Linked DNA regions of Homo sapiens: regions 1 and 2 are each linked to region 3. The links are contacts of gene promoters, found by promoter capture Hi-C in blood cells and fetal thymus (Javierre and others, 2016). All regions are on one chromosome and are shown on one strand. The core of a region is centred on a gene start or on the middle of the fragment in contact, and the rest is flanking DNA. Distances in the headings are between cores, read along the strand shown.

What was found. Contacts are between HindIII fragments. The CHiCAGO score rates a contact against its expected background, and 5 or more counts as called.
Region 1: a contact is called between a fragment that was not itself captured here and the fragment with the promoter of AGAP2-AS1 in region 3, in 4 of 17 cell types (M1 macrophages, M2 macrophages, M0 macrophages and 1 more). The highest score is 7.2, in M1 macrophages.
Region 2: a fragment that was not itself captured here is called in contact with the fragment with the promoter of AGAP2-AS1 in region 3 in 14 of 17 cell types (M1 macrophages, M2 macrophages, naive B cells and 11 more); the score reaches 19.3 in M1 macrophages.

Annotation. Positions count from the first base shown.
Region 1 is chr12:57,500,471-57,504,839 of GRCh38, forward strand. MARS1 (methionyl-tRNA synthetase 1) reads left to right here. Exons shown (of 21, transcript NM_004990.4): 10 at 1-52; 11 at 3,755-3,829. Among named protein-coding and RNA genes, the nearest start is that of MIR6758, 10 kb to the right of the region's middle. The HindIII fragment of the contact is 564 bases long and covers 1,255-1,818 here.
Region 2 is chr12:57,581,714-57,586,080 of GRCh38, forward strand. KIF5A (kinesin family member 5A) reads left to right here. Exons shown (of 29, transcript NM_004984.4): 26 at 157-239; 27 at 889-916; 28 at 1,388-1,502; 29 at 2,505-4,367. The coding sequence ends at 1,466. Among named protein-coding and RNA genes, the nearest start is that of PIP4K2C, 7.3 kb to the right of the region's middle. The HindIII fragment of the contact is 577 bases long and covers 1,429-2,005 here.
Region 3 is chr12:57,723,202-57,727,592 of GRCh38, forward strand. AGAP2-AS1 (AGAP2 antisense RNA 1) reads left to right here and starts at 3,039. Exons shown (of 2, transcript NR_027032.1): 1 at 3,039-3,177; 2 at 3,764-4,391. AGAP2 (ArfGAP with GTPase domain, ankyrin repeat and PH domain 2) reads right to left here. Exons shown (of 19, transcript NM_001122772.3): 17 at 4,159-4,381; 18 at 3,773-4,028; 19 at 1,996-3,593. The coding sequence ends at 3,351. RefSeq lists enhancers at 3,621-4,256, 4,257-4,391. The HindIII fragment of the contact is 18,142 bases long and covers 1-4,391 here.

The DNA.
Region 1 (4,369 bases), core at 287-2,786, 220 kb before region 3:
GGGTGACCAGTGTGACAAGTGTGGCAAGCTCATCAATGCTGTCGAGCTTAAGGTAAGAGGAGGGTCTCCATGGGAGCCCGGAAGGAGACAGTCCTTATTCTTAAGGGACGCCCTTCCTGTCCCATTTAGGATTTTTATTTTAGCATTCTAGACCTTTAACCAGTGGCCCTTTCTGCCCCATCTCAGCAACTCGTCATTTAGTTCATTTGAAAAATACTCCCTGAGCACTTACTATGTGCTGAGCACTGTGCTAAGAAACAGACAAGTTGAGTTTATATTTCCCAACCTTTGGTCTTGCATCACACCACCTGATCTACATTTGTTTAGATCCTTCTCTCTTCTTTAAATATCTTCTCTTCTAGCCATTTGTTAATTTATTTCTTCATTCATTTATTCAACATACATTTTTTGAATCCTTAGAATAGGCCAATTACAATTCTGCGTGCTGGGGGTATGGCAATGAATAAGACAGATTTTATTTAGTATGGTCAGGAGACCAACACTAACTAAGGAAATGATATAGAATAAACTGCCAGGAAAATGTGACAGAGAGTGACTTCTGGGGGAAGATCTAACTTAGGTAGATAGGGAAGGCCTTTCAGAGGCAGTAACATTTGAACTGAGAGTTTAACCAAAGAATTAGGAGCAAGCCAGGCAATAAGAGGTTAAGAATGTTCTAAGCGGAAGGACTAGGAAATGCAAAGGCCATGAGGCAGCTAAGAGCTGAAAAGGCAGAATTGGCAAGGCCAGTATAGCACTAGCACAGTGAGTGAGGAGGAGGGTAGACTGAGATGAGGTGAGAGAGATGGCAGGGGCCAGATCACCAGGGCCTGTGAAGCCATTGTGGGAATTTAGATTTTATTCTGGTGAATGACAAGCTGCTCTGTGGAAAATGGATGGCAGGGAAGCAAGAAATAAAGTATGTTGAAGGGGCTGGGCATTGGTGGCTCATACCTATAATCCCAGCACTTTGGGAGGCCAAGCTGGGTGGATCACTTGAAGCCACGAGTTTGAGACCAGCCTGGCCTGTAACATGGCAACCCTGTCTCTACTGAAAATACAGAAATGGCTAGGTGCGGTGGCTCACGCCTGTAATCCCAGCACTTTGGGAGGCTGAGGTGGGCAGATCACTTGAGGTCAGGAGTTTGAGACCAGCCTGGCCAACATGGTGAAACCCTGTCTCTACTAAAAAAATACAAAAATTAGCTGGGTGTGGTGGCGGACCCCTGTAATCCCCGCTTCTTGGGAGGCTGAAGCTTGAGAATCACTTGAACCTGGGAGGCAGAGGTTGCAGTGAGCTGAGATTGCGCCACTGCATTCCAGCCTGGGTTACAAAGTAAGACTCTGTCTAAAAAAAAAAAAAAACCACAAAAATTATCCAGGCCGTGGTGGCGCACACCTGTAATCCCAGCTACTTGGGAGGCTGAGGCAGAAGAATTTCTTGAACCTGGGAAGCGGAGGTTGCAGTGAGCCAAGATTGCCACTGCATTCCAGCCTGGGTGACAGAGCAAGACTGTTCCCCCTCCACCAAAAAAAAAAGTATGGAGAAGGATTTGGAGGCAACAAGGCTACAACCCAGAAATGGGATAATGGTGGCTTGCACTAGGTTAGTAGCACTAGAAATGGAAAAGAAAAAATAGACTTGAGGTATATTTTTGGAGGTAAACTCCACGGAGTTGGATAGACTGGAATTTGGGATGGTCAGGAAAAAGATGCCTTGTAAGTTTTTGGCCTGAGTAGATGGTAGTACCATCTGTGAACGTGAGTGAGGAGAACAGGCTTTCAGGTGGGATGCAGCCATACTGTTTGGGTTTGTTAAGCTTGAGATGCCTGTTAGATAGCCAGGCAGAGAAGTCAGGTAGACAGTTGGATATTAGGCATATGGAGTTCAGGAGAGAGGTCCTGAGGAATTATAATTTCTCACCTTCAAAAACTCAGATCAAAACTCACTTGGGGCCAGGTGTGGTGGCTCACGCTTGTAATCCCAGGACTTTGGGAAGCTGAGGCGGCCGGATCACCTGAGGTCAGGAGTTCAGACCAGTCTGACCAACATGGCGAAACCCCGCCTCTACTAAAAATACAAAAATTAGCTGAGTGTGGTGGTGCGTGCCTGTAATCCCAGCTACCAGGGAGGCTGAGGCAGGATAATCTCTTGAACCTGGGAGGTGGAGGTTTCAGTGAGCTGAGATTACGCTACTGCACTCCAGCCTGGGCGACAGAGCGAGATTTTGTCTCAAAAAAAAAAAAAAAAAGCAACAACAACAAAAAAAAAACAAGCCAGGCACGGTGGCTCACGCCTGTAGTCCGCGCACTTTGGGAGGCTGAGGCGGGCAGATCACGAGATCAGGAGTTTGAGACCAGCCTAAACAACATGGTGAAACTCCATCTCTACTAAAAATACAAAAATAAGCCGGGCGCGGTGGCACGTGCCTATAATCCCAGCTACTCAGGAGGCCGAGGCTGGAGAATCGCTTGAACCCGGGAGGTGGAGGTTGTAGTGAGCCAAGACTGCACCACTGCACTCCAGTCTGGGCAACAGAGTGAGACTTCGTCTCAAAAACAACAACAACAACAACAACAACAAAACTCTACTACAAAGCCCTCTCTGAAAGATGGAAAAAAGAGCAACAACAAAAAACTCGAAAGTTTTCATTCATTAGCTCCACCTAACTGTTCACTCCATTAGCCATCACCCTTCCATGTTTATATAGTCAGTTTATGCCACACAAATAAATTTATTTTGTAAAGATCTGCACTTGTTTCTTTTTTTTTTTTTTTTTGAGATGGAGTTTTGCTCTTGTTGCCCGGGCTGGAGTGCAATGGCGCGATCTCAGCTCAGTGCAATCTCCACCACCCAGGTTCAAGTGATTCTCCTGCCTCAGCCTCCTGAGTAACTGGGATTACAGGCACGCACTACCAAACCCGGCTAATTTTGTATTTTTAGTAGAGACGAGGTTTCACCATGCTGGCCAGGCTGGATTTGAACTCCTGACCTCAGGTGTTCCACCTGCCTCAGCCTCCCAAAGTGTTGGGATTATAGGCGTGAGCCACGGTGCTCAGCCACATTTGTGTCTTTTTCCTTTTTTTTTTTTTTGAGACAGAGTCTGCTCTGTCAGCAGCCTGGCGTGCGGTGGCATGATCTTGGCTCACTGCAACCTCTGCCTCTCAGGTTCAAGCAATTCTGCCTCAGCCTCCCAAGTAGCTGGGACTACAGGTGCACGCCACCATGCCCAGCTAATTTTTGTATTTTTAGTAGATACGGGGTTTCACTATGTTGGCCAGGATGGTCTCAATCTCTTGACCTCATGATCCGCCTGCCTCGGCCTCCCAAAATGCTGGAATTACAGGCGTGAGCCACCGCGCCCGGCCCACACTTGTTTCTTATATAAGCCATCTCTCCCTGACTTGTAGCTTCCTCAAAGAGAGGGGCTATGTCTTCACTTCATCACTCCTTCCTCCCCTCACACAGCCAAGTACAGTGCAGTGCTCTGTACCTAGCCTATGTTCAGAGAATGTTTTTTTTACTCTGGTGTGATGGGACAGAGATCTGAAACTCTGAGAACAAATGGAGTTATACTGAGAAGATTTGAGTCTCCATGTTTAGAGTAGGCCACATAGTAGAGTTATTGGAGTGTGAGCCTGAAGCTAAACTAGATGGCAGACTGAGGAGCTAATCCTTCTCTGCTCCTCCCCTTGCCTGGACCCCTCCCCTGGCCTGCAGGCCTGATCTGTCCTCTGGAATTTTCCTTCGCAGAAGCCTCAGTGTAAAGTCTGCCGATCATGCCCTGTGGTGCAGTCGAGCCAGCACCTGTTTCTGGACCTGCCTAAGGTAAGTGAGCTTTTCTCTCAACCTAGTTTTCAGGAGGCCTCTTCTGTCCCCTCTGCCTTAGCCACAAATACTGAGAGCAGATTACTCTTAAAAGTTTTAAATTTCCATTAAGAATTGTACATACTATTGTCAAGAGATGAAATAGATTAAAGGGCACAAAGTGAAAGCCCCAGGCCCACTTGCGAGAGGTATTTACTACTTTTTCCTTTGTGTCTATTCAGAAATGTCATATGCATATAAAAGTATTTTTATGTCTCTCTTTTTTTTTAAGGGATAGCTTCTCACTCTGTCACCTAAGCTGGAATGCAGTGGCATGATCATAGCTCACTGCAGCCTTGATATCCTAGGACCAAGCAATCCTCTCACCTCAGCCTCCCAAGTACCATGCCTGACTGATTTTTTTTTTTTTTTTTTTTTTTTTGAGACAGAGTTTCGCTCTTGTCGCCCAGGCTGGTGTGCAATGGCGCACTCTTGGCTCACTGCAACCTTCGCCTCCTGGGTTCAAGTGATTCTCCTGCGTCAGCCTCCAGAATAGCTGGG
Region 2 (4,367 bases), core at 467-2,966, 140 kb before region 3:
CTGCCCTCCCAGCCTGTGGCCATGTTTGTTTTCCTCTGCTCTCTGGGGATGGGGAGGGCTGAGCAGCTCTATCACTGAGGATGAGTGTGGATTAGTGGTCCTCAGACTAGTGGAGGGTGGGTGTCAGAGGCTGCCTCTTTCCTCTGCTCCATCCAGCTTTGCAAACTCCTGTACCAGCAGTGGAGCCACATCTTCTGGCGGCCCCTTGGCTTCCTACCAGAAGGCCAACATGGACAATGGTGAGTGAAAAAGATGGGTAATCCCACCTTTGGGGTCCTCAGGGCAAGTTGAGAGGCATAAAAGTAAGTGACCTTAGTGTACAAAAAACACTGACTGAACCTTTCTGGTGTGCCAAGGCTTCAAATAAAAAAAAAAATACATATAGCCAGGTGTGGTGGCATGCACCTGTAGTCCTAGCTACTTGGGAGGTTGAGATAGGAGGATTGCTTGAGCTCAGGAGCTTAAGGCTGAAGTGCACTGTGAATACACCTGTGAATAGCCACTGCACTCAGCCTGGGCAGCATAGTAAAGCCCCATCTCTAAAATAATAATAATAACACATATGAAGAAAAAAGTGACCCTGTACCTACAGCCTGAGCACTGCCCAGCCCTTTAGGTCTCAGGCTGCCTGGGAGTGGATTCCTCCTATTACCACGCCAATCCCAGCCCTTGCCTTCCAGTTCCCTTTTCCTCTCCTTGGTGAGGGGCTGCAGAAACTTTTTCTCGAACAAAATAATGATGTAGCTTGGGATAACTAAGGAGAAAGTGTCACAGCTTATCTTTTTCTCTAAGGGATTAAGATGGGAGAGGGTTTGCGCAAACTGTTTCTAACACCCAATCTCCTTTTTTCTTCTTCTAATCCTGTGTTCTCAATGATGATCTCTTCAGGAAATGCCACAGATATCAATGACAATAGGTACAACAGTCCCCACTACCCCTGGGTTCTCTGGGTGGGACCAGAAGAAATGATTAAATTTCCCTTGTGCCCCACTTGGAGGTTCCTGGAGCCTTTGGGGAAGGGGGAGGGAGTGAGACTCATTCTTTTCATCACTGTGTTGTCCAGGAGATCCAGTCATTCCCCTGCCTCAGTGCAGAATATCTCCCCTCCTCCAATCCCATCTGTGGCTTCTCCCTATTCCAGTGATAAGGTCTGGACGAAAACAACGTGGGCATCTGACGACTGGGTTTCTCTCCTACCTTTGGAAGCCTTGTGACATTGGACAAGTCATTTACATCCCTCTGGCCTTGAGTTTCCCTGTATTCCTGTAAAACACAAATAGTCCCTGCCGTTTGTGATCTCACAGGGACACTCTCAGAGCAGAGTAACCATGATGACAGGAATACTTTAATTTCTATGGAGCTGATCATGGTGGGTCTCTTCCTCCAGGAGTGACCTGCCGTGTGGCTATGAGGCTGAGGACCAGGCCAAGCTTTTCCCTCTCCACCAAGAGACAGCAGCCAGCTAATCTCCCACACCCACGGCTGCATACCTGCACTTTCAGGTAGCGTCAGGCTGCTTCCTCGGACCAGCCTCAGGTTGCTTCCCTTCTTGCTGACAGCCTCTTTGGTTTTCCTGCTGCTGCTTCTTTTTTTTTTTATCACCTCAAAACTTTAATTATGTAGTTACCCCTCAACTCCTGCTTTCCCCTGTTGGGGGCTACACCTGTGCTGCCCCATGTAATCTGGACGTTGACCTCCCGTGCCCCCTTTTGCTTTCCGTTAGGCTACAGTGGTAACCACAGTACTGTCTTTTTGCCACTAGGGGTCACTGTCACATGTCCAAAGAAGTGAGCTTGGCCGCTGTAGATTAGAACCACAGGGGTGGTAGACTGCAGATCTATCAGGAGACCCTAGGGGGCCATCTCAACCCCACCTCTTCCTCCACCCTGAAATAATTTTGGATGGATAGGTGTTTTTGGAACTAAGACATCTCCAGTTAAGGCGATGTTTGCTTCACGCCTGCACCTGTGTCCCATCCTCTTCCCATCTGTATATGCCACCAGTAAGCTTTAGGAAACGCCCCACGAAATCAGTCAGCGCTCCCCTCCCATCTTGCTCAGTGGAGGTGGCAAAGCCCCTCTTTTTCCTCCTCTGTCCCCAGGTGCTCTCCTCTAGCAGCACAGGAACCTTCTTTGTTCTTGTGTGTCACTGGGTTTCTCACCAAGGTTGCTTTAGGGCCCAGAAGTGGCACAGAGAACATGGCCAGTCTCTTACTGGGCTGCATCTAAGCTGAGCCCTCTCCAGGGGTTTCCCAGAATAGTAAACCAGGCACACACAGGCAGAAAAGTCTGAGAAGCAGAGAAGTAGGAATGCAGAAGAGGAGTTGGGGAGACCTAGGGGTGGAGGTGCAAGCCTGGGTCACGGGGGGCGGTGGTAGGGGGGTCTGCTTGTTGGTATTAAAGGAACAGGACAGTAAACCAAAGTGTGTGCAGATGCCACCTGTTCCTGTTCTGTGACTGAGCTACAAGCTGGGCCCTCACACCCTCTTTCTCTTTCTTTCCCAGTTTCTAAGAGGGACTGAGGCCTCTTCTCAGCATGCTGCAAACCTGTGGTCTCTGATACTAACTCCCTCCCCAACCCCTGTTGTTGGACTGTACTATGTTTGATGTCTTCTCTTACTTACTCTGTATCTCTTTGTACTCTGTATCTATATATCAAAAGCTGCTGCTATGTCTCTCTTCTGTCTTATTCTCAAGTATCTACTGATGTATTTAGCAATTTCAAAGCATAGTCTACCTTCCTTATTTGGGGCAATAGGGAGGAGGGTGAATGTTTCTTCTTTCTCATCTACTCGTCTCACACTGAGTGGTGTTAGTCACTGAGTAGAGGTCACAGAGATGACAAAAGGAAAAATGGGAGCTAGAGGGTTGTGACCCTTCATACACACACGCACGCACGCACACAAACATGCACACACGCATGCACACACACAAAGCCTTAAGCAGAAGAATGTCTTAGCATCATGAGACAGAGAAATAGACTCTTCCTCCCTCCTCTTTCACATATAGCACAGGGGAAGGTAAAATGGAAGGGCTGCTAATTGAGACATATAATTTTCTTCATACACCCCTCACCTTAATCAAAGGATTCAGGTGTTACTTCTGCCCTACAAAGTCTGCCTTTTGCCTCCCTCTTCCTGTTTTCCCCTGGACTGAGAAATGGGTTGCTCAAGGGACCATTTCCCTTTTTCTTCAAGCTCCTTTTGATATTCCCTGCCCCAGAGCTCATGACCAGAACCCAGAGCTGATTTAAAATATTTTGAAAAATGGAGGAGGCAGACTGCTCCCAGCAGCCTGTCAATGGCTGCTCATCTGTCCATGGAGATGGTTACAGGCAGGTGTAGTCAAAATGATTGATTCCTTGGGTTTGGGGGTGAATAGGCTGGGAAATTTCTGAGCCTTTTTTTTTTGTCACAGTGCCCTCAAGTTGAAGTGATGAGCTGGATTTCTTTCTTGTTCCATACTGGGCGGCATGCTCCTCCCATCTCCACCCCTTGGTTTGGGGGCTTCCAGCTCATTGGCAAAATCTCTCTAGTTGCCTTCCTTTCAAGCTGGAGCCTGACTTTTCCCCAATGTACATTTTTTTTTTCTCCACAAAGAGTTCCTTCTCTAATGTCCCCATCTGGTATTAAGTGCACTTTAAAGAAAGGGGCAGGGTGGATTTTCAAGAGGTGGGAAGCTCTAAGGCTTGACCCTGAGGGGTCTTCTCCCAGCCATTCTCAGCCCATATGCAGCACCCTCCATACTGAAGAGGACTGTTGTTTTAGTTTCAGACGGTCCTTTCCTTCCACATGGTGCTAAGGTGGTTTTCTAGGTAACTGCAGGGATGGAGGTCACTAGCCATTCCAAACCAGGAGAGAAAGTCTGGTGTCCTGATATCCAGTCTTTTCTAGGAGGAAGACCAAGATTCTCCAGCGGCAGGGCAGCCTATCACCCAACTTCTAAGTCAGGAAAGGAAGCTGAGTGGGAATGCCAGCTGGTAAGCGCAGGCTGCACTGGCCCATGACTCCTTCAAGGAAAAGAGGCCCTGCTCCCTTTACCTGCTGAGCTCCTTTTAGCAGTTAGGGAGAACTGCAGGGGGAAAAATACCAGTGGAGTGTGGAATAAATCCAAAGCAGTGATTTTTAAATGTTTTTCAAAAACAAATCTTACATAGAACCCCAATATAAAAAATAAAGTAATGCAGACCTGGGCAGTTTGCATTTTTTTTTTTTTTTTTTTTTGGTGGAAGAAGTCTCAGCGTCTCTTAGGACTGACTGTTCAAAGGCTCCTCAGCAAATGAGCCCTTGAACAGTCCTAAGAGACCCTGAGGATTCTGTGGAGTAGTTTGAAAACCATTGTTCTGAGGAAGGGGGTCCAATCTGGCTC
Region 3 (4,391 bases), core at 1,789-4,288:
TACTTGGAGGCAAGAGTCTCAGAAGGAGTCCCCAAAGCTGATCAGAAGCTCAGAATGGGAAGGGGCTGGGGCAGGAGGGCTGTGCTTTGATTTGCTGGGGATGGAGTCTCAGCATCACCAGAAAGCAGAGTTCTGGAAATCTCACTCTGTTAATCATTTTGTACTTTCAATCGAAATTCCTTTTTCCTTTCCTTTGGCTTTTGGCGGCAGCACTCCCATGGTGAAGGTCGGTCTGCCCCAGCTGTGCTAAGACAAACAAAAGGAGGGGAGCAGGGTGTGGCAGATGGCAGCCAGCAGGGCTGCAGGGAGGGCTGGCGGATGGCAATAGGGCATCCTGCATGGCAGGGCATCCAAGCAAGGCAGCCCAGGGTGAGCTGTGAAGGGGGCATGGGCACAAAGGGGCAGCAGCTCTCCTTCACCCACCCAGGGAGTCCCCTTCTGGGCTCCTATTTTGTCATAACCTGGAGGGCTTGATATTTTGTCATTCCATCCACTACCACCCTTTACATCTCCCCCGCAAGACCAAAGACACTCCCCATTAAGACAAGAGGCAAGTGGATTACTTGGTGTTGGGATTTGTTGTGAGGTTTGCTGACACCTTGACCATTTTTCACTGGCTGGAAATGAAAGGAACTTCCCACTTGCTCTTTGAAGGCAATTTCATTCTCTCCAGGGTCCTTATTTCCTTCCCATATTCTCTCACACTCCCAAACTTCTGAAGAAGGGAGCAAACTTTGGCCACGAGGAAGGAGTGGAGCTGAAATAAGAGAGTCCAGGGTCTTGGAGGTGAAGGGGGAACGGCCAGGTCCTCTAGTCCAATCTTCTTTGCTACCTCCCCCCTCTTGTCGCTTTGCCCAGACCACACACCTGCCTCTGTACTTGTCACTGCACCTGCACTGTTGAATCCACCTTTCCTGGGTCACGCCGCTGTGCTGGGTGGTCACAGCCTAGGACCCTGTAGAGCCGCAGCCTCCATGTGAACTGGATTCAGGTCTGGTGCTGTGTCCTCAGTTCAGTGGCACACTTGCAGCTGAACCTCTTGGGGCTGGTGGGCACCAAGGGTCAGAAGCAATTCTACCCAAAGATGCTGGTGCTACCAACTAACTCCTCAAGGTAGATAACAACATATGGCTGTGCCCAACCTGCACTGGCTGCTGACCCAACCCTACCCTGTCCAGCCCCTCTACCTGAGTAAACACTTTCAGCTGCCCTCGAGAAATGGTAGGATTGGCTATGTGCTGAGCCTAGTGGCACTGCAGCTCATGGAGGCAGCACCGGCTTCAGGCCGCTGTGGCCTTGGTGGTCCCTTTGATGGCACGGAGGTGGATAAATGCCTGCATCAGCTGACACTGAGTTTGTGGACACCAGGGACCTCTGCAGCTAGCTGGGAAATCTTTCCCAGGAGGTCTCCCACCCCTTCCCTCTGGAACACCCCCTGACGAGGCCAGGGGAGGAACCCCTACTCTATGTTCTACTCTGGTACCTAGTGCTCACGGTGAGCAGGCTGGCTCGGGGCAGCCCTCCTCAGAGCTGGAGCGCCTTTCAGGTGCCCTCTGAACAGATACTGTTCAGAATACAGATAAACAGATGCCACCAAGGTCCCCTAGCTGTGCAGTGGAGGGGCAGGTTTCAAAATCAGATCTGTCTCCAAAGTTCCTGCTCTTAAACAAAGCTGTCCCATCTTCCCACCCCTCTCCATGGGCCTGTCCTCTCCTCTAAGTACCATATCCCAACTCTCCCAGGACTGGCATCATCTTAAGAGTCAGTGCCTTCTCTGTTCCCAGGGTCCCCACTGACTCCAACCTGCCCACGTCCTCCACTACATGAACCCAGAACTGTTGTACATGATGGAACCACCTCCATGCCCATGGGTACTGTCCTGCCACCAGCCCCAGTGGGAGGCACCTCTGCCTGTCCCTGTCCAACCCCAGTACCCCATCTTGACCAAGGCCATGCCCTGACCTGCCTCCAAGAACAGACCAGCAGCTCACCCCCTAGACAAAATCACTTCCTCTTTAATTGCTGTTGAAGAAGATTCACACCACTGCCTCCAAGGAGATGGGGGGGCATTTCCCCCTTGCCCCCACCTCTCTCCCCTCCCCAATTACCTGGTCCTTTGCAAACTATTTTAGCCAGAAAAAAAAAAAAAAAAAAAGACCGGAAACCACTGACACAGACAGCCCAAGGGCTGGGTTGGCTGAGGGAGGCAGGGCTGGGCCAGGTAAGTCCGCCCTATCACCCAGTTTGTGGGGAAGGGGCAGGGGGCCTGGAAACCCTCCCAGCCACCTCGAATCCTCTCAGCCCTGGCTGGGAGAGGTCACGGGGGTGAGGAATGGCTCTGGAGCTGCTCCAGTGGGAGGGAGGGGCTGGACAGAAAGAATAATGGGGGAGGGGTCCCACTGTAGGGGTGCCCCCTACCCCAGATCACCACGGGCGCTGCACAGTCACAGGTACGCAGTCACGGTCACAGACACAACCCGAGAGCACCCCCACCCCAACCCACCCCCTGCCCACCCTGGGCTTCCCCTACCCCAAAACGCCCTCCCCACGCCCCTGCCCGCCCCCATCCCCATGTTGGGGAACAAAGCAATAAATTACAAGGCCCCCGCAGCCCTCTTAGCCCGCTCCTGCTCCATCCCTTCTCCCTCCCAAGATAGTAGTGGGAGGGACCCAGGCTCTTGGTTCCCCCCGGACTCTTTAGCTTCCACCCATGGGTAGGTGTAGGGGACGTCCTGGTTTCCACTACTCACGGTCCCTTTCACGGAAAGGGTTGGGAACCCCCACCCCCATGAGCAGCAGGGGTCCTGCCCCTCGCTGCCCTTGCCCCCTTCACTGGGCAGTGAGATGAGCATGGAAGGGGTAGGGTTTCCGTATTGGCCCCAAGTCCCGGGGCTAGCCCTCCCATGTACTAAACCCTCCCTCTGGCGTGGCGTCGCCCCAGGAGCCAGCCTGGGTATGGGCTCCCGCCCTGGGATTGTTGAGCTCGGGCAGGACCGGGTCTTCTTTCCGCCCCTAGGGGGCACAAGCGGGCATGTCCAAGCGCCTAGGAGCCCGTACCGCTGGGGACCTCCCCTTCCGCGAACCCCGAGCGGGTAGACCCAGAGCAATCCGAGTGTGGAAACAATGGAGAGGGGGCGTGTTGAGCTGGGGTCTCCATGCCTCGTTGGGGAGAGGGAGGTGAGTTTGTGTCTTCTGGAAGGCGTGGGGGCTGTGCCCTCGTGGGGGTAGGAAGTGCTCCCGTGGGGCGGGGTGCGGATCGGAGAGGTGAGTGGGTGCGTCTGTCCAGCGGTCCGCCCGGTGTGGTCGTGCCCGGCCCGCGTGGGGATGGGGGTGTCTCTCCCGCTGGGCAACTATACCAGCGCAACCGGGGCGTCGGCGCGGCCCACGCTAGCGGCGCTGCTCCGGCGGCGGGGGCTGGGCGTGGCGGTGATGCTGGGCGTGGTGGCCGCGCTGGGCGTGGTGGCCGCGCTGCCGCCCTCACCCGGGCAGCCGTGCTGGAGAAGGATGTCGGCGCACAGCTGGCTTCCAGCCTGGCGGGCGTAGAACAGCGCCGTGCGGCCCTGGGCGTCACGGGCCGCCACGTCCGCGCCGTACTAGAGGGCGGAAACGGCCGCGTGACCGCGCGTCCCCAGGGCGCCCACACCCGGCGCCGCCTCCCCCACATGGCCAAGCCTACTTCCGGGGTCCCTCTGGGAATTTCGGGCTTTCCCGCGCCAGGCGTTTTCCGAGATGAAGCCTCAAAGACCCCCTTTCCTCCCCCCAGCTCACGTACCCACAGCAGCAGTTGCGTGATGACGACGTGGGCGAGCTCGGCCGCCAGGTGGAGTGGGGAGCGCAGCTGTGGGTCCTCTACGCTGGTGTCGAGCGGCCCGTGTCGCGCATGGGCCAAAAGCAGGAGAACGGTAGCCACGTCCTGGGCCTGCACGGCGGCCCACAGCTGGCGGCCCAGCGGCTCCTCCGAGGTGCTCAGCGGCGCCAGGAACAGTAGCTGCTCGTACTTGGCGCGAATCCACGACTCGCGCTCCTCCCTGCAAGACCAGGGATCAACGGAAAAGGCTCTAGGGACCCCCAGCCAGGACTTCTGCCCCTACCCACGGGACCGTCTCAGGTTCGCACACCCTCAGCAACCCTCCCCCCGCTCTGTTCCCTCACGCTTACCGCGAAGAGTCCCGCGAGGGCTTGGCACGGCCTCGCGTGTCGCTTTCCCACACGCGGTTGGCCGTGTCGTTGCCAATAGCCGTCAGCACCAGGGTCAGCTCCCGTGGCCAGTCGTCCAAGTCCAGCGAGCGAACGCGGGACAGGTGTGTGCCCAGGTTGCGGTGGATGCCAGAACACTCGATGCAGATGAGGGCGCCCAGGTTCAAGCTGGCCCACGTGGGGTCTGCGGAAGG